Linked DNA regions of Homo sapiens: all the other regions are linked to region 5. The links are contacts of gene promoters, found by promoter capture Hi-C in blood cells and fetal thymus (Javierre and others, 2016). All regions are on one chromosome and are shown on one strand. Each heading gives the region's core, a stretch centred on a gene start or on the middle of the fragment in contact. The rest is flanking DNA. Distances are from core to core; before and after follow the strand shown. Region 1 overlaps B4GALT4 (beta-1,4-galactosyltransferase 4). Region 2 has its middle 5.4 kb from the start of CFAP91. Region 3 overlaps CFAP91 (cilia and flagella associated protein 91). Region 4 overlaps B4GALT4-AS1 (B4GALT4 antisense RNA 1). Region 5 holds the start of POGLUT1 (protein O-glucosyltransferase 1). Region 6 overlaps POPDC2 (popeye domain cAMP effector 2). Region 7 has its middle 3.0 kb from the start of COX17.

Region 1 (3,028 bases), core at 211-2,710, 240 kb before region 5:
GGCAACAGTCACCTACATCAATGTTACTTAAGAATTCTCTTAAATTGCCCAAAGTGAGAGAGCAACACAGAAGCCCAGAACAAATGAGGTATCAAGAGACTCACTTTCCACTTCACACTCACGTAGAGTACATACTGGTGGAATCTCCAGCATTATTTGATAGTTTCACAGTTCTTTCTCTCCTGCCTTCTTCTTCCTCTCTTCATTTGTCCCTCTCTCCCCTCCTTACCAAGTGCTTATAGTTGTATTTGCAGAAATGCAAAATTAACGCAACTCCACTGTAGCTACCTGTCTCCCCACACTGACACTCAACGGGGAGCCCTGTGAGGGCAGGTGCTCTGCCTTATTCAAACTGGTCTTATGGCCTCCAGCACAGTCAGCACCACAGATATGAGCACCCATGAACAGCAGGGCCTGGGGAAAGCTGACAGGTAAGTGTGCACACAAATGAGGGAATATAGTGTTTCATTTGCAGAGAAACATTCTGTGTCACTATTCCCGCTTGGTTGTGCTTGAATAGGAGCTGGTGAATCAAATAAGGCTGAAAAGCAGCTACACCCTTCTTAAGGGTGGAGGGGATGGGGAATGAAGACACAGATGATGGCATCTGGCACTTCTCACAGTGGCTTTGAGAGAAATGAACTTGTCCTGGGTGTCCTGGCTCCCGAGAAGACTACTCAGAGGACATGCCCTCCCCCACCTCTCCCCATACTCTAGAAAGAGGCCACAGTCTGGAAAGTGATGTCTCAACAGAGGTCTCACTAAGGACACCAGCCTGTTGCCTCCTAGAGGGGGAGTCAGGAATAGACAAACAAGTTACTTGCATTCTAGTCAGTGTGGGAAAGCTTGCGAAAGCCCCCCGACAGGGGCGCTGCGGGTGAGACTGGCCACCACCTGCAATGCTTGGATGATATTTCTCTCCAATGCTTTCCCTTGTCTTTGTGATCCTCTGCTGAAGTTGTAGGGCTTTTTCCTCATTACATTCTCTAACTTCTGTTTTGCACTTTAAGTGATGCATACATTATGGACCATTTTTTCTATTTCTCATTTTCTTATGACACTCTGGATGCTTGTTCCACCCAGTCTTGATCACAATAGTTGAGCTTCTCGACCTAAGCCACCCTCAGCAGAACCACCTTACCTGTACCCAGTGCTGTTCCTGCCAACCACCAGATGCTTGGGATGCTCCTCACACTTGTAAAGGTTAAAGTCATTCTCGGGTACCAGGTCCACATCGTGGAATATAAAGCAGTCCCAATTTTCTTCCTTGAGGGCTTCTAGATAGCCCACATTCAAGAGTTTGGCTCGATTAAACTTTTTACCTTCAGCCTAGAGATATGAAAATTAAAACTTGAAAAGCTCCTGAGATAAAGTTTCATATTGTTTGCCTCTTAGTTAGGATTCAGGAGATGGTATTATTCTAATTATTCTACGCACGAGACTACACTTGTGACATAAAGATCTGACAGAGAAGATGCAATGACAATAAAAGACCATTTGATTTTTTTCTTCGTGCTTCACACATACTTATATTCCAGAACTTAGAAACAGTCCTTGAAATCCAAAGACTTGTTGTTTAATGATAGAGAGTTCCAGTTTTGCAAGATTAAGTTCTGGAGATTGATTTCATAAATACACTGCATATATTTATGCAACCAATATATTGCATAATTATGCATAGATACATTGCATGTAAATATTCTTAACATTACTAAACTGCACACTCAATAATAGTTAAGATAGCAAAAATTTTAAAAAGTTAAAAAAAGTTAAGATGGTAAATTTTACATCGTGTGTTTCACAATTAAAAATTTTTTAAAAGCAGCTTTAAAATACAAATAACTCAAATAATCAATAATAATGTACACTTAAAATGTATTGAGTATAGCTCTCATGTTAAATATTCTTACCACAGTTAACAAAAAAAAATTTTCTCTTAAAATTTTACAAATACCTTTACGTATTCTGTATAAAACTACAAAACCTTTCTTATATACTAGTCATGTCAATTAGTATTACTGCTTCACAGTTCAACCCTAGGTAATCCCAATCTTACCCTCTGTTATGAATTTACACTAAGCTTCTAAGAGACTTAGTTAATAGCTTGCCAGAAAGGATCAAGAAATCTCAACCTATAGAAAGAGAAAGTTATTGCTAATATTTCTAAGCTACTTTAAAGTTTCTCAGAAATCCCTGTAAGAGAATCCTGTTATAATGCTACTGGTGGAGGCTAATCCTCACAGTGGCCTTATGGAGGTAGATTCGTCACTGGGCAATAAAAGAACACAGTTTGACCTGTAATATGATTGAAGCTGTAATAAAAAAATTAAATAATTTTTTCATGGCTGCTTCATTCAAATTCCTTCAGAATGAATTCCAGTTAAGTGGTTTATCATAAAAGTGCAAGTATTTCTCAGAAGTTACCACAATGTTTTCCTGATAAGAATAACACGAAGCAGACATATTTTTCTCTTTCTCTTTTTCTTTTTTTTTAATTTGAGATGGAATCTCGCTCTGTTGCCCAGGCTGGAGTGCAGTGGTGTGATCTTACCTCACTGCAGCCTCCACCTCCTGGGTTCAAGTGATTCTCCTGCCTCAGCCTCCTGGGTAGCTGGGACTACAGGCATGTGCCACCACACCCAACTAATTTTTTTTTTTTTTTTAGTATTTTAACAGAGTATTTTGTATTTTTAGTAGAGACAGGGTTTCACTATGCTGGCCAGGCTAGTCTCAAACTCCTATCCTCAAGTGATCCACCCACCTTGGCCTCCCAAAGTGCTGAGCCACCGGGCCTGGCCCAAAGCAAACATGTTTTTCTATTCATAAAAATAGTACTATACCTTGTAGGTTACTGTCCTGAGCAAGAACTCAGAATCAAATAAATCATAACTATGACCAACAACCTTAAAAACAAAAATAGCTATAAAACAATATAATAGTAACATTTTGTTCCAAGTACTAAAATACAGACATAGGTGTGCTATATAAGCACACTGATTTTCAAGAGCCTCAGTTTATCACCAAGTCT
Region 2 (3,118 bases), core at 399-2,898, 230 kb after region 5:
TCTTTAGCTTCCGGTTGGGAAGAATTTCTTCCTTTCTATAGCTGTGAGACCATCAACCAAAATTCAGAACAAACTCCAATAAGTTGCAAAACACTGATCAAAATCAAATGCTCACTGCAGCCTCAAAATCCTGGGCTCAAGCTATCCTCCCACCTCAGCCACTGAGTAGCTAGGACTACAGGCGCATGACACCACGCCCAGCTAATTTTGTTGCTGTTGTTGTTGTAGAGAGAGGATCCCACTATGTTGCCCAGCGTGGTCTCAAACTCCTGGCTTCAAGTGATCCTCTTGCCTCAGCCTCCCAAAGTACTGGGAATACAGGCATGAGCGACCATACCTGGCCTAAATGCTCTCTCTCTCTCTCTATATATATATATATATATACTAACCTGTAAATTTAAAATTTCACCTAATGAGCCAGCTTAAACTGGAAATTTTGTTTTCTAATAACATTTGTTTTTTCTGATTGAACTGATGTTTTCCAACAGTAGCAAAAGCTGATGTATAGCATTTAGAAGCTAAATGTAACTACCATGTAATGTAGTAGTAAATGTTACTATGTAATAGTTACATAGTAACTAATAGTATGTATTAGTAGTACACAGTACTAATACTGCTGATACTACTGCTAGTACTATGTAACTGGTAGTTACATAGTAGTTACATTTTGCTACTAAATGTAACTGAATAGCATTTAGCTACTAAATTTATATATTTAAATCCATGTTTACTTACATTTAGCTACTAAATGCTATTCAGTTAGTAGTGAAATGTAAATATGTGTTTAAGTATATGAATTATATCTTTAACAGTCATGCCTATTCTTTAGCCCTACATTTGCCCTTTGTATTCTTACATATTTTAAGATGAATATCAGATGTAGTTCTAGGTAAATGGGAAGCTCATGATGCACGAAGACAGAAATGGAGAAATTGAGAAGATTTATGAAGCTAGGTAGTATTATAACATTTATCGGACACTCGCTATCTAACAGACTGTGTTCTAAGTCCTTTGTAGGTGTTACCTCCCATAATTTTCCCTGATATTATTGCTGTTTGTTCTCATTTTAGTGTTTTGGAAACTGATGCATGTGGATATTAAGTAAATGCCGAAGATCACACGAACTGTTTTAGAACAAAGATTCAAACTTAGGAAATCTGATTCTAATGTTCACGTAGTTAATCACTGTATTAGAGTTTCTGCAGTGTACGGAAGTGTTAGTTTTACTGAGGATGTATTGAGTTTGTCTAGTAGATGTTTGGTCATTTGAAATGGAATATCTTAAAGATTGTGAAGGTATGAAATTGGCAGTGAGACAGAAGTGAAAGTCACTGATGGCAGACAGGTAAATACATGAATAATTCAGTAGCTCAATTCATTCCAATGTATTTTCCTTTAGCACCTGCTTTGTGCCAGGTGCTGGTGTAACTACCCAGTGAGTTCTCCTTGCTCGCTGGCTAGACAGAGTCAGTTTATAAGATAGGGGAACTGCAATAGAAAAAGAGTTTAATTCACACAGAGCCAGCTGTACAAGAGACTGGAGTTTTGTTATTACTCCCCAAACGCTTGGAGGTTAGGGGTTTTTCGGAGACAGTGTGGAGGGCAAGGGGGGTATGGTAGGGGGCATGGCATACTAATTGGCTGGGTTGGAGATGACACCATAGGGAATTGAAGCTGTCCTCTTGGGCTGAGTCAGTTCCTAGGTGGAGGACGACAGGACTCGTTGGCAGGTCCAGGTGGGGCCATCTGGTTGTCAGAAATGCAAAGGCCTAAAAAGATACCTCAAAAGGCCAGTCTTAGGTTCTATAATAGTGATGTTATCTTCAAGAGTAATTGGGGAAGTTGCAAATCTTATGACCTCCGAAAAAATGGCTGGTAATTATTTATAATTCAGGCCCCTTTCATCCTAACTTTGTGGACTTTCACTCATTTTATAAAAATAGTTTAGTTTTTGGGAGGGGCTATTATCATTTAAACTATAAACTAGGCCAGGCACGGTGGCTCACGCCTGTAATCCCAGCACTTTGGGAGGCCCAGGCAGGTGGATCACCTGAGATCAGGAGTTCAAGACCAGCCTGGCCAACATGGCTAAACCCTGTCTCTACTAAAAAATACAAAAAATTAGCTGGGTGTGGTGGTGGGCACCTGTAATCCCAGCTACTCAGGATGCTGAGGCAGGAGAATCACTTGAATCTGGGAGGTGGAGGTTGCAGTGAGCCAAGATTGTGCCACTGCACTCCAGCCTGGGCAACAGAGCAAGACTCCATCTCAAAACAAAAACAAAAAACAAACAAACAAAAGTATACTCTAAATTTCTCCCAAAGTTAGCTTGGCTCATGTCCCAGAATGAGCAAAGACAGCCAACCTGTGAGGCTAGAGTCAAGATGGACTCAGCCATGTCAGATTTTTCTCACTGTCATAATTTTCTCAGTTATAATCTTTTGCAAAGGTGGTTTTACTGGCCTAAGAGATATGGATGAATTCAGGGTGAACAGGACATTTGAGGTCTCTGGTCTCACAGAGCTTACATTCTAGTGGGAGGAGATATAATAAATAAGCAAATCAGTAACATTTCAGTGCTATAAAAAAAATCAAGGTAATAGTGTCTTCGGATGTGTTTATGGAGGCTGCTGGCTGTTGACTACCTTAGATAGTTTATCTGATAGAATGAGGAAAAGAAGTCTTTCTTCTTCTTCTTTTCTTTCTTTTTTTTTTGAGACAGAGTCTTGCTCTTGTTGCCCAGGCTAGAGTGCAGTGGTGCCATCTCAGCTCACTGCAACCTCCGCCTCCCAGGTTCAAGCAATTCTCCTGCCTCAGCCTCCTGAGTAGCTGGGATTACAGGCGCCTACCACCACGCCTGGCTAATTTTTTTGTATTTTTAGTAGAGACGGGGTTTCACCATGTTGGTCAGGCTGGTCTTGAACTCCTGGCCTCAGGTGATCTGCCTGCCTCAGCCTCCCAAAGTGCTGGGATTACAGGCGTAAGTCACCATGGCTGGCTGAGGAAAAGTCTTTCTGATGAGATTGCCAGAGGCGTTTAAACCTGGGCAACTCCATTTTGAGTAGGGGCTAGGTAAAATAAGGCTGAGACCTACTGGGCTACATTTCCAGATGGTTAG
Region 3 (3,192 bases), core at 429-2,928, 250 kb after region 5:
CACGCCTGTAATCCCAGCACTTTGGGAGGCAGAGACGGGCGGATCACGAGGTCAGGAGATCGGGACCATCCTGGCTAACATGGCGAAACCCCGTCTCTACTAAAAATACAAAAAAAAAATTAGCCGGGCGTGGTGGCGGGCACCTGTAGTCCCAGCTACTCGGAAGGCTGAGGCAGGAGAATGGCCTGAACCCAGGAGGCGGAGCTTGCAGTGAGCCGAGATCGCGCTACTGCACTCTAACCTGGGCGACAGAGCGAGACTCCGTCTCAAAAAAAAAAAAAAAAAAAAGAAAGAAACGCTGGAGCAAAGCGTATTTTAACTTGTCAATTTGGTGTACCTATTTGTATTTCCATCAACAGTTTATGAGAAGGCCTGTTTCTTCACAACATAATCAATGCTAGGTACTTTCAGTCTTTTAAATCTTTGCTTATGTGATAAAATAGCATAAAATAGTATCTTGCTGTTTTACTTTTCTTTGATTACTAGTTATTTTCATTATCTTCTCATATGTTTGTTAGAAGTTTTACTTTTTGTTTTGTGAATTCTCCTTTACTCATTTTTCCATGGGGTATTTAACTGCCTAATTGATTTACAAGGGCTTTTTATATAGAAAGGCTATTTAAACTTTTTATCATATATGTTCCAAAACCTTTTTCTAAGTTTGCCATTCACCTTTTAAATTTGTTTGTGATATTTTGAGGCATAGAAGTTGAAACTTACCCTCAATTCTATTGATCATCTCCTTTTATGGTTTCTGGCTTTTAAGCCCGGCTTAAAAAGACCTTCACTCAAAGATGATATAAATATTGACTTATGTTTCCTGTTAGTACTTTTATAGTCTCATTTTTACATTAATTTTTTTAAAGATCTGGAATTAATTTTTCTGCAAGAGACAAGCTAACTTTCCCACATGTTAATAACAAAGTGATCCCAGCATTAATTATTGAATCATTTATCCAGATAGAGCCTGTCTGCCTGCCTGCCTGCCTTGGTTCCTCCCTTCCTTCCTTTTTCTCTCTCTTTCTTTCAGCAGAAACCATCTCTTCTCTTTTCTCTGCTCCCATATTTCTGGAGGGAAACAGAGAGTGGTATGGAACTGAAACAAAGAAGAAAGAAACCAGAGAATGTAGTAATGCTGAACAGGTTCAGAAGTGCTGTACAGCATTCTAGAATAGCTCTGTTCTACAACCTTGCCCAGTGACACACATATAAATAGGCACTTCTGTGGGTCAACCATGGTACTTTGACCCACTTAGTTTCCTGGCAGAGGTGAGAATAACAAGGCAATTCTCTCAAGATTTGTGCGCATAATCCTGGTTATAATGGATTCATGATTTTGTACCTGTCAACATTTAAAAGAGGAATGGACTTGACAAAGCTTCGAAGATTTGTTTCTACTTGATTATATAATATTTTAAGTGACCATAACAGGTTTCAATTTTTAAACTGATTTTTCTCTTTTAGGGCAGAACCATACACTTTTCCTCCTACTTCTACTAAGCACCTATCCATCCCTTCAAAGTCTACTGTGGGCACTCAGACTGATTATCGGGATGCTGACGTTCAAACAGATCCATACTCTGCAGAATATGTAGTATGTCAGGACTCAATCCCTGAGCTCTTGACCCTGGCTACGCTTACTTGGGGTGAGTTGGTAAATCTCCTGACTATTGGCAGATGACGATGCTGATAACCACGCATGCTGTTCAAATGGCCCATGTACAGGCAATTGTGGTTTACAGTGTTGCTATATAAAGTGTCTTAGTACAGCAACTTCATAGACTCATAATTTTTCTGATACTTCTGGTCAAATAAAGATACTATCTTTTTATTGTGAGTAGTTTTATCGTACTCTATCTGTGAAGCTGAATTTCAGCTTAATATTGCAGTTGCTTTGCTGACTACTCACCTATGTCCTCTCATTTCTCTCTCCTAGTGAACCACTTCCTTTTCATTGAGCAATCATACTTCTTTAAACATAAGCTTTGAGTGTAAAATACTGAATGCACATTCCTATGTATGTCATATTATCTTAATTTGCCAAAATATCTTAATTTACCAATCCTCCCTTATATACTTTATTAGATGATTTGGATGACTTGACATTATCTCTGAAATGCTAAATATCTTTCAGGCTCAGAAATTAACTCTTAGAATGTAATAAAATCTGGCCTAGGCCTATATTATGTGAACCTATAAAATTAATAAGTGAGACTACCTTTAGAAATTATTAGAAATTAGCTTATGTAACTCACTTAGTTGTATTAATAGCTGGGAAACTGAGAACCAGAGAGGTTAACTAATTCCTCCAAGGACATAGAGATAGTTGGTTCATGGTAATGATTTTTAAATGAGATTACTTTCCCCCGCATTGTAACAGATAGCTGTGATCAAGTCTGCGTCCCAGACAAAGAAGATGTTCATATCTGGGCTCTAGTTTTGATTCTTGTTTCCTGGCCCACTTTATGAATCCAGATTAAGCATTATCAACACCCATACTTTTTTTTGAGACGGAGTCTTACTCTGTCGCCCAGGCTGGAGTGCAGTGGTGCGATCTTGGCTCACTGCAACCTCCGCCTCCTGGGTTCAAGTGATTCTCCTGCCTCAGTCTCCCGAGTAGCTGGGAGTACAGGTGCATGCCACCACACCTGGCTAATTTTTTTATTGTATTTTTAGTAGAGGTGGGGTTTCACCGTGTTAGCCAGGATGGTCTCGATCCCCTGACCTCGTGATCTGCCCACCTCAGCCTCCCAAAGTGCTGGGATTACAGGCTTGAGCTACCGCACCTGGCCCAACACCCGTACTTTAAAGCAGAGGCTCTACTTTCAGGCCTAGATGGCAAATTAAAAATATGCTGAAACCTTCCCTTTCTGCTCTGAATGCATAAAAATTACAGGAAAAAATTAATAAACATGTAGACACACTTAAAAGCAAGAAAGAAAATATTCGTAATGTAGAAATGGAGACTTTTTCCTAAGAAAGAAGTAGCTGGGAACCTTTGGTGGTGAGTAGGAGCTGTGCATGGCAGGGAACCAGGTCCAAGTCACCTGCCTGAAGGTGAGGGGCCAGCGCCCTTCTCCTGCACACTGGTGCAACTGAAGCCTGGTGCCTGCCCAATAAAGATTATAGACAGAGCAGAGTCAGGCATTCCTGCCTGTGGCCTTGGACTTTACCTCTTGGTGTGATAAGGAC
Region 4 (3,062 bases), core at 555-3,054, 190 kb before region 5:
GAATGGTGATTATTAAAAAGTCAGGAAACAACAGATGCTGGCAAGGCTGTGGAGAAATAGGAATGCTTTTACACTGTTAGTGGGAGTGTAAATTAGTTCAGCCATTGTGGAAGACAGTGTGGCGATTCCTCAAGGATATAGAACCAGAAATACCATTTGACCCAGCAATCCCATTACTGGGTATATACCAAAGGATTATAAATCATTCTACTACAAAGACACATGCACATGTATGTTTATTGCAGCATATTTACAATAGCAAAGACTTGGAACCAACCCAAATGCCCATCAATGATAGACTGGATAAAAAAAATGTGGCACATATACACATATACATGTGTATATGTATGTGGCACATGTACCTGGAATACTATGTGGCACATATACATGGAATACTATGCAGCCATAAAAAAGGATGAGTTCATGTCCTTTGCAGGGACATGGATGAAGCTGGAAACCATCATTTTCAGCAAACTAACACAGGAACAGAAAACCATGTTCCCACTCATAAGTGGGAGCTGAACAATAAGAACACATGGACACAGGGAGGGGAACATCACACACCAGGGCCCATCGAGGGGTGGGGGACTAGGGGAGGGAGAGCATTAGGACAAATACCTAATGCATGCGGGGCTTAAAACCTAGATGACCAGATGATAGGTGCAGCAACCACCATGGCACATGTCTACCTATGTAACAAACCTGCACATTCTGCACTTGTATCCCAGAACTTAAAGTAAAATTTAAAAAATATATAATAATAAAAATTCTTATTGGGGAAAAAAGAATTAAAAACAAACTCTTTAGAAGCTAGTTACCTTTGGGTGGTGAGACATGGGGGTGAAAGGGAGGTTTGGAGAATAAAGCAGGAAACGTTTTTCTTTTTCCATTTAATGCCATTCTATACTTTTGAATTTTTTAACCAAGTACATGTATTACTGTTAAAATAGACATTCCTTATACAATTTCATCATTTTGGTTTTGTTTAATTTTAGGTTTAAGGCACATGAGGAAAGTATAATGTATCTATTTTTAAAGTTTTATGGTCTGAACATTTATGTTTTCCAGATAAAGCTAAGCCACTTCATAGCCTGTCTCTGCATGGTACTATTTTCCAAAGAAACACTAACCCATATCCAAAAATAACAGAAAGGCAATTTAAATTTTTACTTCAGTGCCATGAAAGCATCAAAGGGGGATTCCATTTATAATACATAACAAAACCTCTTAAAATCTTCTTGCCCAACCTCTCAATATCTCACACCATATGGTAGCTGCTTCTAAAACTCTCTCCCCCCATCTTCAAACCTTTACAGAATGCATCCCACACTGTCTCTAGTTTCCTCTACTCCCCACTTCTCTCCCTTCTCTTTCTGGGCCTATTGTCTTCTAAGTCTCGGTCCTTTCAAATATAAATCAAGCTGTCCCTGATGTTCATTTTATCCCTTATCACAAGGATGCTTCTTCTTAGTCTGGGAAAACTAGCATTATTGTTTGTTTGTTTTTGTTGGAGACAGAGTCTCACTCTGTCACCCAGGCTGGAGTGCAGTGGTGCAGTCTTGCTTCACTGCAACCTCTGCCTCCCCGGTTCAAGCAATTCTCGTGCCTCAGCCTCCTGAGTAGCTGGGACTACAGGTGTGTGCCACCACTCCCGGATAATTTTTTGTATTTTAATAGAGATGGGGTTTCACCATGTTGCCCAGGCTGGTCTCGAACTCCTAAGCTCAGGCAATCTGCCTGCCTCAGCCTCCAAAGTGCTAGGATTACAGGTATCAGCCACCATGCTAGGCCAGCATCATTGTATTATTACTTCTAAAGAAAAACCAAATTCTTATTTCTAAAAAATCTACTACAGTCAAAGATTTGAGACATAGCCTGCTAGAATATAGTTGTAAAACTACGAGTTTCTCTCCTCTAAGCATCTTAGAAATAGGGACTGGGTTTTATTCATCTTTGCATTCACTGGGCCTACAAAGTGCTTTACACACCAAGTGCACACAAAACTATTAAAGCTGTAATTTGGAATATAGCTTTTATGAGAGAAGTCATAGGGAGAAGAGGAAGGAAGCTAATTTTTACCGAGTATCTGCTATGGAGCAGTCACTGTGCCTTTCTAGTGGTGAAGTATCTCTCTCTCTTTTTTCTAGATTAGTAATTGCCACAGGGGAGCAAGAAAGGCAGATGTGAAGTACACAAAGTTTGAAGAGACCCTCCATGTGATGCTGGTATTCCCACATCATAAAACATCCTCATACCTCCCACATGTAAACTAAGTCACTTTTACAAATGCGGATGTGTCCAAAGTACCATCCTGACCTTTAAGTGCTGGGGATGAGGTAGAAAGATTAGGAACTACTGATGGAAACTCTGAGAGTGTGTGTGTGTGTGTGTGTGTGTGTGTGTGTGTGTGTGTGTGATGCATGTGTATTTAAAACACATACACATTCAAAAATGCCCACTAGATGGCAAACCCACATCTCAAATGTTAACCATTACTGGAGTGACCCTTCTGGAAGGCTAGGGCACTTTAATAATTCAAGCCAATTCGTAAAAGGCCAAGATTTTGTATACAGTTTAAGGGGCATGCAAATTAGCTTTGTGATGATGGTCTTACAAATCATTTCTAGGAATAGAGGCTAAACTTATAACTCCACCATTTCCAGAACCTAATCTGATTTATTTTCCACGCAAAATACAGTATGAATGCAGGTAAATTAAATTTCCTTACTATACCATCTGATTTCATATCTAGGTTTCATAACTTTGTGGGAGTAAAGCCAGTGATGGGGATAGGGTGTGAGCCTAAGTAGTCCCATTCTGGAAGTTCGGCATTTTATCCAGGATGCATTTCAACCTTCCGCTAACGTGAGAGGGAAGGCACCAAGGAAGAATGCGTAGCTTTCCGCCCTCCTCCCCAGCCTCCTACATTGCTGCCAGATGTAGTTGAGCCTGCACTGCTCAAAATTCTCCAGTGGCTCCCCACTAAAGGATCAACTCTATCAATGGTATCACACACACAGTCCCACCTTATGGACAAGCCGGTATATCACCAATCTCTCTCA
Region 5 (3,151 bases), core at 410-2,909:
CATTTTAGAAAATAGATAAATATTGCTGGGCGCAGTGGCTCACGCCTGCAATCCCAGCACTTTGGGAGGTCGAGGCTGGTGGATCACCGGAGGTCGGGAGTTCGAGACCAGCCTGACAAATATGGAGAAACCCCATCTCTACTAAAAATACAAAATTAGCCGGGTGTGGTGGCGCAAGCCTGTAATCCACCTACTCAGGAGGCTGAGGCAGGAGAATTGCTTGAACCCAGGAGGCGGAGGTTGTGGTGAGCCGATATTGAACCATTGCACTCCAGCCTGGGCAACAAGAGCGAAACTCCATCTCAAAAAAAAAAAAAAAAAAGAAAATAGATAAATATTTGTAGTTCTATGATTACTAAATATATCTACACTGACCTATATATACCTGTATAAAGATATATACCTGTACTATACTATATACCTATATTGTCCAGTATCATGTTGCCCACTGTCAAGAAACAAAATTTCATCAAATTTAGTTTAAAGTTCTTGGCCAGGCATGGTGGCTCACGCCTGTAATCCCAGCACTTTGGGAGGCCGAGGTGGGCAGATCACCTGAGGTCAGGAGTTTGAGACCAACCTGGCCAACACGGTGAAACCCTGTCTTTACTAAAAATACAAAAATTACCCGGGCATGGTGACACACTCCTGTAATCCCAGCTACTCGGGAGACTGAGACAGAAGAATTGCTTGAACCCGGGAGGCAGACGTCATAGTGAGCCAAGATTGTGCCACTGCACTCCAGGCTGGGCAACAGAGTTAGACTGTCCTCTGTCTCAAAAAAAAAAAAAAATCGAATTGGCTTTTATTAGTGATTCATGAATCAGGCAGCATCTCATCTATAAAACAGAAAAGTGTTCTAATGAGCTGAGCAGAAGGGGTTGGGCTTATAGGCAGAAAAGGGCTGAAGAAAGCAGAAATAAGGAACAAAAAGCAGATTGGTCATTTTGAAGTTACTTTCCTCAAAGAGTTACATCAGAGGGGACTTCTTTATCATGCCAGCTCAGGTATATGGGCCCCTTCTCCTATTTGTTGGAAAACTGACCCCTTTTAAAGCTGAGTTTAATTACGCAGCACCTAGGACAAGTTGCCTCCATTCTGGTTTTGTCTGCTCTCTTGAGGCCTAGTGCCAGAGTTCTGTCCAAAACAACGACCTCCCATAAACTTTATTTAACACCATTGATCTTTTTTCCTACGTCTAAGTCACCCCAACTGTTATAAATTCCTATTACAAAGGGATCCCTGCTATGCTAATTGCAACCTTTGGGGTCTAACCGTGCTGTACACACACACACACACACACACACACACACACACACATGCTCAACAAATTTATGCTATTTGATAAGAGGCAATTTGACGTCAAGAGAAGAACTGTTTGGCCTAGGCTCTATGCCAAGTCTTGGTTGTGCCACTAACCGTGAAACATACCCTCTCTGACCTTCAGTTTTCTGGCTGCAGACCTATTTTCCCAGGGGTGCCAGGGAGGGAGGATAGGCAACTGGTCCATTCGTTTATCCTCCCCACCTTCCCGGCGCAGCCTTCTCAGGGAAACTCCGCCTCAAGGCTGGGGACTGGAGGAAGGGTGGTGGGGCCACGGTGGCCATCTTTGTGCGGGGCGACCCGCCGCCCACGTGCTGCGGCTCCCGGGCCATCTTTGTGCGGGGCCGCGCTTCCGCCAGCGCCGCAGCGGGGAATCTGCAGTAGGTCTGCCGGCGATGGAGTGGTGGGCTAGCTCGCCGCTTCGGCTCTGGCTGCTGTTGTTCCTCCTGCCCTCAGCGCAGGGCCGCCAGAAGGAGTCAGGTGGGCTCCGGGCAGTGCCGAGCCTGCCCCTTGGGCTCGGGGTCTGGCCGGAGTCCCGAGGCGCTCCCCCGCGCGGCCGGCTCCCGGGAAGATGCCGTGGCCGCTGTAGCTCGGAGCTGGGCAGAAGGCACCGGGGCGCCTTGCGGCGGAGAGTGAGGTGCCGGGGTCTCTGCTCCTGCTCTGGACCCTGGAGAGTAACCCATTCCCCGGAATTCAGAATGACAGGGAGGAGAGGGAATTCCCCGTTCACCCGCAGGAGGCGTGGCCCGTGCTTGGCTACTCTGGACCTGCCTGAAACACTGAGGGGTCGGGGATGGGGGCAAATGTCGTGCGCGCGAGCGTGTGTGTATATGCGTTGCCAGAAGAGAAGAGGGGTTTAATGTCTGTAGCTTTTAACTGATCCTCTTTGTGGAGTTCAATTTGATTAGTAGAAAGTGAGAGTCCGCGTCACTATCCATAGCATTCTGAGGGTTGAGCATTAAGCTTGGGAATTTTCCAGTTTCTTGGACACCTGACAGCCGGATAGAGGAACAGACTTGACGTGAGCGTGGGAGTTGCACACACAAAAATTCCTCCCTAGCGTTTCGTTTCCATCAGTGGGATGGGAAGGGGATTTCTGAAAGTTTTGGTCTTCTGTTTCTTCTGTTGGTGTGGTGTCAGCAAATAACATTCAGGAAAATTTTTTTAACTCTCATTTACTTCACTTTTTAAAGGTTCAAAATGGAAAGTATTTATTGACCAAATTAACAGGTCTTTGGAGAATTACGAACCATGTTCAAGTCAAAACTGCAGCTGCTACCATGGGTGAGTTCTTTTCTTTGATGTGTCTTTGAGAGTTTAGTTGCTGTCACAGGAAGTATTCTAACATCCTTGAGAGATTTTGGTTGCAGTGGTCAGAAAGGCAAGGATGTTTTTCTATTTCTGGGGAATAAAAATGCTCTCGCATGGGAAAGGCTCAGGTGGTGTCAACCTAACCACTGACTCACTGCGGGATTCAGTGCATGTGCATCTGTTTTTCCCACTGGGCTGCAAGCTTCCTGAGGTCAGGGTCTGTGTCTTATTTGCTGTTGTCTCCCTGGTGCTAGCTGTCAGTGCGTGCTCGATAAATATTGTTGAGGAAATAAACCCATCTATCGCTGAATCTAGTCCTAAATTTCCTGATGGTTATCTTTAGAAAATGCACATCAGGCTGGGCATGGTGGTTCATGCCTGTAATCCCAGCACTTTGAGAGGCCAAGGCAGGTGGATCACCTGAGGTCAGAATTTCGAGACCAGCCTGGCCAACATGGTGAAACCCTGTCTCTACTAAAAATACAAAAATTAGCTGGGCATGATGGCACGTGCCTGT
Region 6 (3,059 bases), core at 224-2,723, 180 kb after region 5:
TTCTTCACTTGGTTCCCAGGATGCCATACACTCCTTGCCCAATCTCATGATTGTTCCTTTTCAAGCTCCTTTGCTGCTTCCTCCTTTCCTCTCCAACTCCTCACCACTAAAGTATCCCAGGGCTCCGCTCTTGAACCATTCCCTCTTCCATCCACACTCACTCACTTGGTGAGCTCATCCTATCCAATGGCTTTAAATATCATCTGCATACAACCAACTCCCAAATTTATGTCTCAGGCCCAGATCTCATTCCTGAATTTCAGACTTAAATATCCAGTTGCCTATGCAGCATCTCCATTCAAATGTCCACAGATGATGCAAACCTAACATCAAACACTGAACTTCCTAGTCCCCCGAAAGCAGCTCTACCTGCAGCTTTCTTTGTCTCAGTTGACAGCAGCACCACCTGTCCAGTTGCTCAGGCCAAAAGCCTTAGAGTCTTCCTTGATCTTCTCTTTCTCTCACATACTATATCCAACCCTTTAGAAAATCCTTTTGGCTGTATCTAGACAATATATGCTATGGCCCTACATGATCTTGCTACCTCGTCACCTCTCCAACTTTCTCTCCTGCTATTCCCTCCCCTTCCTCTCTCCATTCCAGGTCCACTGTCCTCCTTTCTGTGCATCAAACACACTGGCCCCACCTCAGGGCCTTTGCACTGGCTCTTTCCTCTGTCTGATATGCTTTTCCCAGATATTCACAGACCTCACCTGTCATCTCTCTCAGGTTTTTGCTCAAATGTTATCTGCTTAACAAGGATTTCCATGACCACCCTATTTAAAATTGCCACCATTTCTCCCTTGCACTACTCTAGGTTTTTTTTTTTAAACTAGCAGTGATTATCCTCTAACAAATTATATAATTTACTTATTCATTATGCCTATGGCTTTTTGTCTCCCCCATTAGAATGTAAATTGCATGAGGGGAGGGACCTTCATCTGTTCTGTTCACTGATATATTTCAAATCCTTTTAACAGTGCCTGGTATATACTAAGTTTTCAATAAATATTATTGAAGTGAATAAATGAATCAAGGGAAGACAGCCAATCTTGTATATTGCAAAACAACCTAATGTCACTTTCTTCCCCCACCCCACCGCCCCCCTGAGACGAAGTCTTGCTCTGTCACCCAGGCTGGAGTACAGCGGTGTGATCTCAGCTCACTGCAATGTCCACCTCCCGGGTTCAAGCAATTATCCTTCCTCAGCCTCCCGAGTAGCTGGGATTATAGGCACCTGCCACCACCCTGGCTAATTTTTGTATTTTCTAATAGAGATGGGGTTTCACCATGTTGGCCAGGCTGGTCTCAAACTCCTGACCTCATAATCCAACTGCCTCGGCCTCCCAAAGTGCTGGGGTTATAGGTGTGAGCCACCGCGCCCAGCCTCTAATGTTGCTTTCTCATGTCCTGTATAAAATCCTTCCCCAAAGGTCCTCCTGAAATCTGCTTCTTGATTGGTTCTCCCATATATATAGACATATCTGTTGTAACGTTTTGACAAGTATTTAGCTTTTTTTTTAATACTCATCTCAGATGTTGGTTGAATGAATTAAATGAGATAACCTATGTAAATAGGACTTAGGTCCAGTAAGATAGGATGCAAATTAGAAAAACAGTGATGATTTCTGTGTGATCCCTCCTGTGCTGTGTTCTTGGTGACTAATGAGTGTCACAGTGCCGAACACACAATGAATTCTGACTTAATTGAATTGTCGAGAGGTGTGCTGGAATGCTGATTGATTTATATTAGGTACAATGTGAATTATAATTTAGGCTGTCACTGTGGATTGCTCTCAGTCAACAAAGACTATGTAATTGCAAAAGGCAAGGACAGGATGAACTCTAACTTAAGATAACACTTGACATTTGCAAAGAGGAAATGGGACTTTACACAGCCAATAGCAAATGTGTGGCTCTCATTACTCCCAAAGGAGGTACACGCTAAAAATATAAATGGGAGGAACATGACCATACCTACATTCCAGGCTGAGAGGCCATGTGAGGTTACAGCCCTTCCTCTTGAGCGTAACTTAGGGGAGGACACCCGGCTTACCCACCACCTGTTCCTCCGTGTCAGTGTCAGAAAGAGGCCTGGTCCAGCTGGCTCAGGTCCTGACTGAGCCCTCCTGGAGGTTCTCATGTGCCTGAGAGAGTTCCTGAAGAAGGTTTCTGGACTAGTTAGGGAGGGTGTGTGGACGGAGGTCAGGGTAGGAACATGATGGAAGTGGATCTGTGGCTGGTGACCCTGGCAGTGGGATCAGGACTGCCTCTCAGGCTCCATCATCACAGAGCCAAGTGTCAGGGTGGGGGCAGAAGCAGGCCCTGCCAGGTAGCACTGCCCGGTGTGTGTCTGTTCCGGGGTTGGCTCATATGTTGGCTTGAGGGACTCCCTGATAAAAGTAGTAGGAGACACATGGAATCCAGTGTTTCCAGGTCCAGCAAACTATCCAGGCAGGGGAGTCCTTAAAAGGGTGAGTGAGTGTGTGTGCGCGTGTGTGCATGCGTGTGCATGTGTGTGTGTGTATGTGTGTGTGTAAACTCTACTCTTCTGGTGACCTTCCCATTTTAATAAAGAACAGAAATGGTAGATCCAGGCAACTTGGCTTTGTCACTTTCTAGCTGAAGACCCTGGGCAAATTACTTGATGTTTTTGGGCCTTAGTTTCCTCAGTTGTTAAATGGAGTAATAATCATATTCAACCCATAGAGTTGTTATGAGAATCAATGAGGCAATATGATACGTAGTGCCTGCCACATGCTAGCCATTCAATAAGTGAGAGCTACAAAGAAAGTGACCAAAGCCTGAGGGATTGGCAGAGATAAGAAGAGTAGGGGCCAGGCAGCCAGGAACCTGCATTGGAGCATGTATGTGAATGCCCCATGGAGTCCTCTGGGACACCAGCTGCCCAGTGGCAAACCAGTTCAGCAATTCTTTTTTTTTTTTTTTTGAGACGGAGTCTCACTCTGTCGCCCAGGCTGGAGTGCAGTGGCGCAATCTCGGCTCACTGCAAGCTCCGCCTCCCGGGTTCACGCCATTCTCCTGCCTCAGCCTCCCAA
Region 7 (3,444 bases), core at 165-2,664, 210 kb after region 5:
TAAGGATGATTTTTATTTCCTTCTGGATTGATATTTTTAATAATACAACATATTACCCTCATGTTCTAAATTCACCCTCATCCATTATTATCAATTCTTTCAACTAGGTGCTAACTCACATTGTTTAGAATCTTGCTAATCAAACAGTGCTTCCTGGATGAGCAATATCAACATCACTTGTAACCTTAATATACAATAAAATGTGGTTCAACAAATTATTGGGGAAAAGAAAATAGGCTAACCATCTGGAGAAAATTAAACACTACATTAAAAGGAAGAGCTCTAGATGCATTAAAGACCTAGATTGGAAAGATTGAAATATGAAATTAATAGCAAATTGTGGAGGAGAATATTTTAATACTGAGGGATGGGGGAATAACTTATGTTACATTTCAAAAGTACAAATTGCATGTCAAAAAAATTGAAGAAATTCATTACAGCAAAATAAAGGCTTGGGGTTTTACATACAATACTATAGACAAAGTTAACAAATAAATGATAGAATTGGGAGAAAATATTTGAAATCTACATATTTTTAAAAATTTTAAAAGTTAAAAAACTAATGTGTTCACTTAGAATATGTATTCAGTTGAAACAATGTCACCTTCAGTCGCAATATCTTCCATATATGTAGGGCTGTCGAGGTTGTGAACCATCATTTAATCTTCATGGCAGTCAAAATTATTATCTACATTTATAGTTGGGGAAAAATTGAAGTTCAGAGGTGTACATTTGTTCAAGGCTGCGTAACTTGAAAGTGGCAATCCTGAGTCTCATCATCTTCTCCCTGTACTCTGTCTACTATCCTACTTAATTTATCTAAATGCAAGGCAAGGCCTGGTGTAGTGGCTCACACCTGTAATCCCACACTTTGGGAGGCTAAGGCAGGCAGATCATCTGAGGTCAGAAGTTTGAGACCAGCCCAACCAACATGGTGAAAACCCATTTCTACTAAAAATACAAAAATTAGCCAGGAGTGGTAACCTGTAATTCCAGCTACTTGGGGGGATGAGGCATGAGAATCACCTGAACCCAGTGGGTGGCAATTTCAGTGAGCCGAGATTGTGCCACTGCACTCCAACTTGGGTGATGTAGTGAGACTGTCTCAAAAAAAATTAATTAATTAATGCAAAGCAAAATTTTTTTATTTTAAAACTAATCATTGATCTGTATTCACTTGTGCTATTGCATTTTTATGTATAGGAAATGAACAAGGAAGAAAAGGAAGATAAATATCTAACAGAGTTTAGAGAGCTAAGAGAATTGAGATAAACAGTAGGGACAGATAACAGACCCAAAGACTCAAACAGCTTTTCTGCAATTGAGAAGATTTTTTGGCCCACTGTCCCTCCTTGCTTCAGGGAAGAAAGATTACTGGTTGTGATAACACTGCCTGTGACTTCCTCAGGTTAGCTAATATAGGCAGGCCTCAGGCAAAGAAGTTGAGTAGCAGCCCTTTCTGCACCACACTTCTTTAACCTGCTGTGTTCCAGACATTTACAACCTTTGGTTTCCTTACTGAGTGCTGTAACCCTTAACACTCTTTCAACAACTGCTTCTTCAGGATGAAATATTCTCCTGACTTTGAAAAAAACAACCAGTGGCCTTTCCAAAGTGAAATATTTAGTCATTTATATCTAGCTACTAAACTATCCTCTTGCTTCAGAATGGTACAGCTAACCCACATATGTGGGTTACTTTTCCTTCTACCTTTTAATTTATATGAAGTAAGGTGGAGCGTGCTGGCTCACGCCTGTAATCCCAAGCACTTTGGGAGGCTGAGGTGGGCAGATCACTTGAGGTCAGGAGTTTGAGACCAGCCTGACCAACATGGTGAAACCCCGTTTCTACTAAAAATACAAAAATTAGCCAGTCGTGGTGGCAGGCGCCGGTAATCCCAACTACTCAGGAGGCTGAGGCAGGAGAATCCCTTGAACCAGGGAGGCGGAGGTTGCAGTGAGCCGAGATCACGTCACTGCACTCCAGCCTAGGCAACAGAGTGAGACTTTGTCTCAAAATAATAATAATAATAATTTATATAAAGTAAGCTGTAAGGTCAACTTTTGATTTTTATGTTATCACTATGCTTTTCTTCTTTCTCTATCATTTTTTCTTCTCCTACCCAGTCTAAATGCTTTTATACTCGTGGGATGGCCTGTTTCGGTATTAAAGGAAAGGTAGGAGTATATAACATAAGAAATTTATCCTTTCCCATTCTACCCCAACAAAAATCTTAATAGCCCACTTCCCCCAAGAAAAATAATTTTAGAGAGCTGTAATTAGAGTTTAAATTGACAGTAGGTGGCTGATGAATACCAAATAATAAAAGATAAAATTCACCCATCTGTCTTACAAAGGCAACTCTGAAATTAGTTTGATTCATACCTTTTATATCAAGCTCTTGCTCATCAATTTTGATTTTAACCAGAATTGGAGCTCTTTTAAACCTTTGGAATGCTTTGCTATTACTATAATTGCTAAATTAGCAGGCATTAAGACTTGAAGTGGTGACTGTAGTGGATTTTTTCATAGCACAGTGAATATGTTTATTGTATGTTATTGAATGGGGACATTAGCTACCAGTGGCACCAAACAGCAATTTTGTGGATGCATGACAGCCCTGGTAATGCCAGAAGCAACAACTGAGAAAGTACTTTCTAAAATCCTTCTATGATAAAGGTATTTTTAGCCATTTTTCAGGCCTAACTAATCCCAGGTGTGCCAGCTTTACCAAGTAAGGGTGAGTAGTTGTTGGTGGAGAAGGAGTGACACCATATGTTGAGAGATAAGAATTACAAGACTTAAATTCTCATTGGCCTAATGTACTATGTCTACTTTGTATAAACTAACTTACAAAAGTAAGTAAGGTAATTTTTGTCCTTATATCTGCCCCTGCAAAGGAAAAAATGCTTTCCAATTTCCACAGGTAAATATGTACTGTACATCGTTCTTTATAGCTGCAATTTTATTCAAATTGCCTGCCACAGTTTTATGAATGTTGGTTGTATTAGTCTGTTCTCATGCTGCTATAAAGAAATACCCAAGACTGGGTAATATAAAGGAAAGAGGTTTAATTGACTCACAGTTCTGCATTGCTAGGGAGGCTCCAGGAGACTTACAATCATGGTGGAAGGCAAATGAGAAGCAGGGACCTTCTTTACAAGATGGTAGGACGGAGTGAGTGCCAACAGGGGAAATGCCACTTATAAAACCATCAGATCATGTGAGACTCACTCACTATCACAAGAACAGCATGGGAGAAACTGCCCCCATGATCCAGTTACCTCCACCTGGTTCCACCCTTGACACATAGGGATTACAATTCAAGATGAGATTTTCAGTGGGGACACAGCCAAACCATATTATTGGTAGAAGCCTCCAAGCAGCTAGGTCACAGATGAAGGACAATTTATTACTTATAGCAATAGCAGCAGCAGAATATCA

What was found. The method cuts DNA at HindIII sites, captures the fragments that hold promoters and counts their contacts. A CHiCAGO score of 5 or more calls a contact.
Region 1: a fragment that was not itself captured here is called in contact with the fragment with the promoter of POGLUT1 in region 5 in 2 of 17 cell types (activated CD4 T cells and naive CD4 T cells); the score reaches 6.6 in activated CD4 T cells.
Region 2: a fragment that was not itself captured here is called in contact with the fragment with the promoter of POGLUT1 in region 5 in 2 of 17 cell types (monocytes and naive B cells); the score reaches 11.9 in monocytes.
Region 3: a fragment that was not itself captured here is called in contact with the fragment with the promoter of POGLUT1 in region 5 in 1 of 17 cell types (monocytes); the score reaches 7.8 in monocytes.
Region 4: a contact is called between a fragment that was not itself captured here and the fragment with the promoter of POGLUT1 in region 5, in 1 of 17 cell types (megakaryocytes). The highest score is 5.2, in megakaryocytes.
Region 6: a contact is called between a fragment that was not itself captured here and the fragment with the promoter of POGLUT1 in region 5, in 3 of 17 cell types (M1 macrophages, M2 macrophages and monocytes). The highest score is 7.9, in M1 macrophages.
Region 7: a contact is called between a fragment that was not itself captured here and the fragment with the promoter of POGLUT1 in region 5, in 15 of 17 cell types (megakaryocytes, total B cells, monocytes and 12 more). The highest score is 13.2, in megakaryocytes.

The regions. Positions count from the first base shown.
Region 1 is chr3:119,222,917-119,225,944 of GRCh38, forward strand. It overlaps B4GALT4 (beta-1,4-galactosyltransferase 4), which reads right to left. Exons shown (of 8, transcript NM_003778.4): 5 at 1,142-1,329. Among named protein-coding and RNA genes, the nearest start is that of B4GALT4-AS1, 2.1 kb to the right of the region's middle. RefSeq lists a silencer at 2,372-2,544. The HindIII fragment of the contact is 1,235 bases long and covers 844-2,078 here.
Region 2 is chr3:119,696,034-119,699,151 of GRCh38, forward strand. No RefSeq gene overlaps it. Among named protein-coding and RNA genes, the nearest start is that of CFAP91, 5.4 kb to the right of the region's middle. RefSeq lists an enhancer at 1,466-1,515. The HindIII fragment of the contact is 7,689 bases long and covers 1-3,118 here.
Region 3 is chr3:119,714,098-119,717,289 of GRCh38, forward strand. CFAP91 (cilia and flagella associated protein 91) reads left to right here. Exons shown (of 18, transcript NM_033364.4): 6 at 1,465-1,646. Among named protein-coding and RNA genes, the nearest start is that of CFAP91, 13 kb to the left of the region's middle. The HindIII fragment of the contact is 605 bases long and covers 1,377-1,981 here.
Region 4 is chr3:119,272,659-119,275,720 of GRCh38, forward strand. All of the region lies in intron 3 of B4GALT4-AS1 (B4GALT4 antisense RNA 1), which reads left to right. Among named protein-coding and RNA genes, the nearest start is that of ARHGAP31, 20 kb to the right of the region's middle. RefSeq lists an enhancer at 2,386-2,555. The HindIII fragment of the contact is 6,975 bases long and covers 1-3,062 here.
Region 5 is chr3:119,467,304-119,470,454 of GRCh38, forward strand. It overlaps POGLUT1 (protein O-glucosyltransferase 1), which reads left to right and starts at 1,660. Exons shown (of 11, transcript NM_152305.3): 1 at 1,660-1,803; 2 at 2,517-2,607. The coding sequence starts at 1,719. RefSeq lists enhancers at 1,324-1,824, 1,517-1,686 and a silencer at 1,737-1,936. The HindIII fragment of the contact is 3,798 bases long and covers 1-2,284 here.
Region 6 is chr3:119,650,546-119,653,604 of GRCh38, forward strand. The region is part of intron 2 of POPDC2 (popeye domain cAMP effector 2); the gene reads right to left. Among named protein-coding and RNA genes, the nearest start is that of POPDC2, 8.5 kb to the right of the region's middle. The HindIII fragment of the contact is 5,739 bases long and covers 1-3,059 here.
Region 7 is chr3:119,678,727-119,682,170 of GRCh38, forward strand. No RefSeq gene overlaps it. Among named protein-coding and RNA genes, the nearest start is that of COX17, 3.0 kb to the left of the region's middle. The HindIII fragment of the contact is 6,506 bases long and covers 1-3,444 here.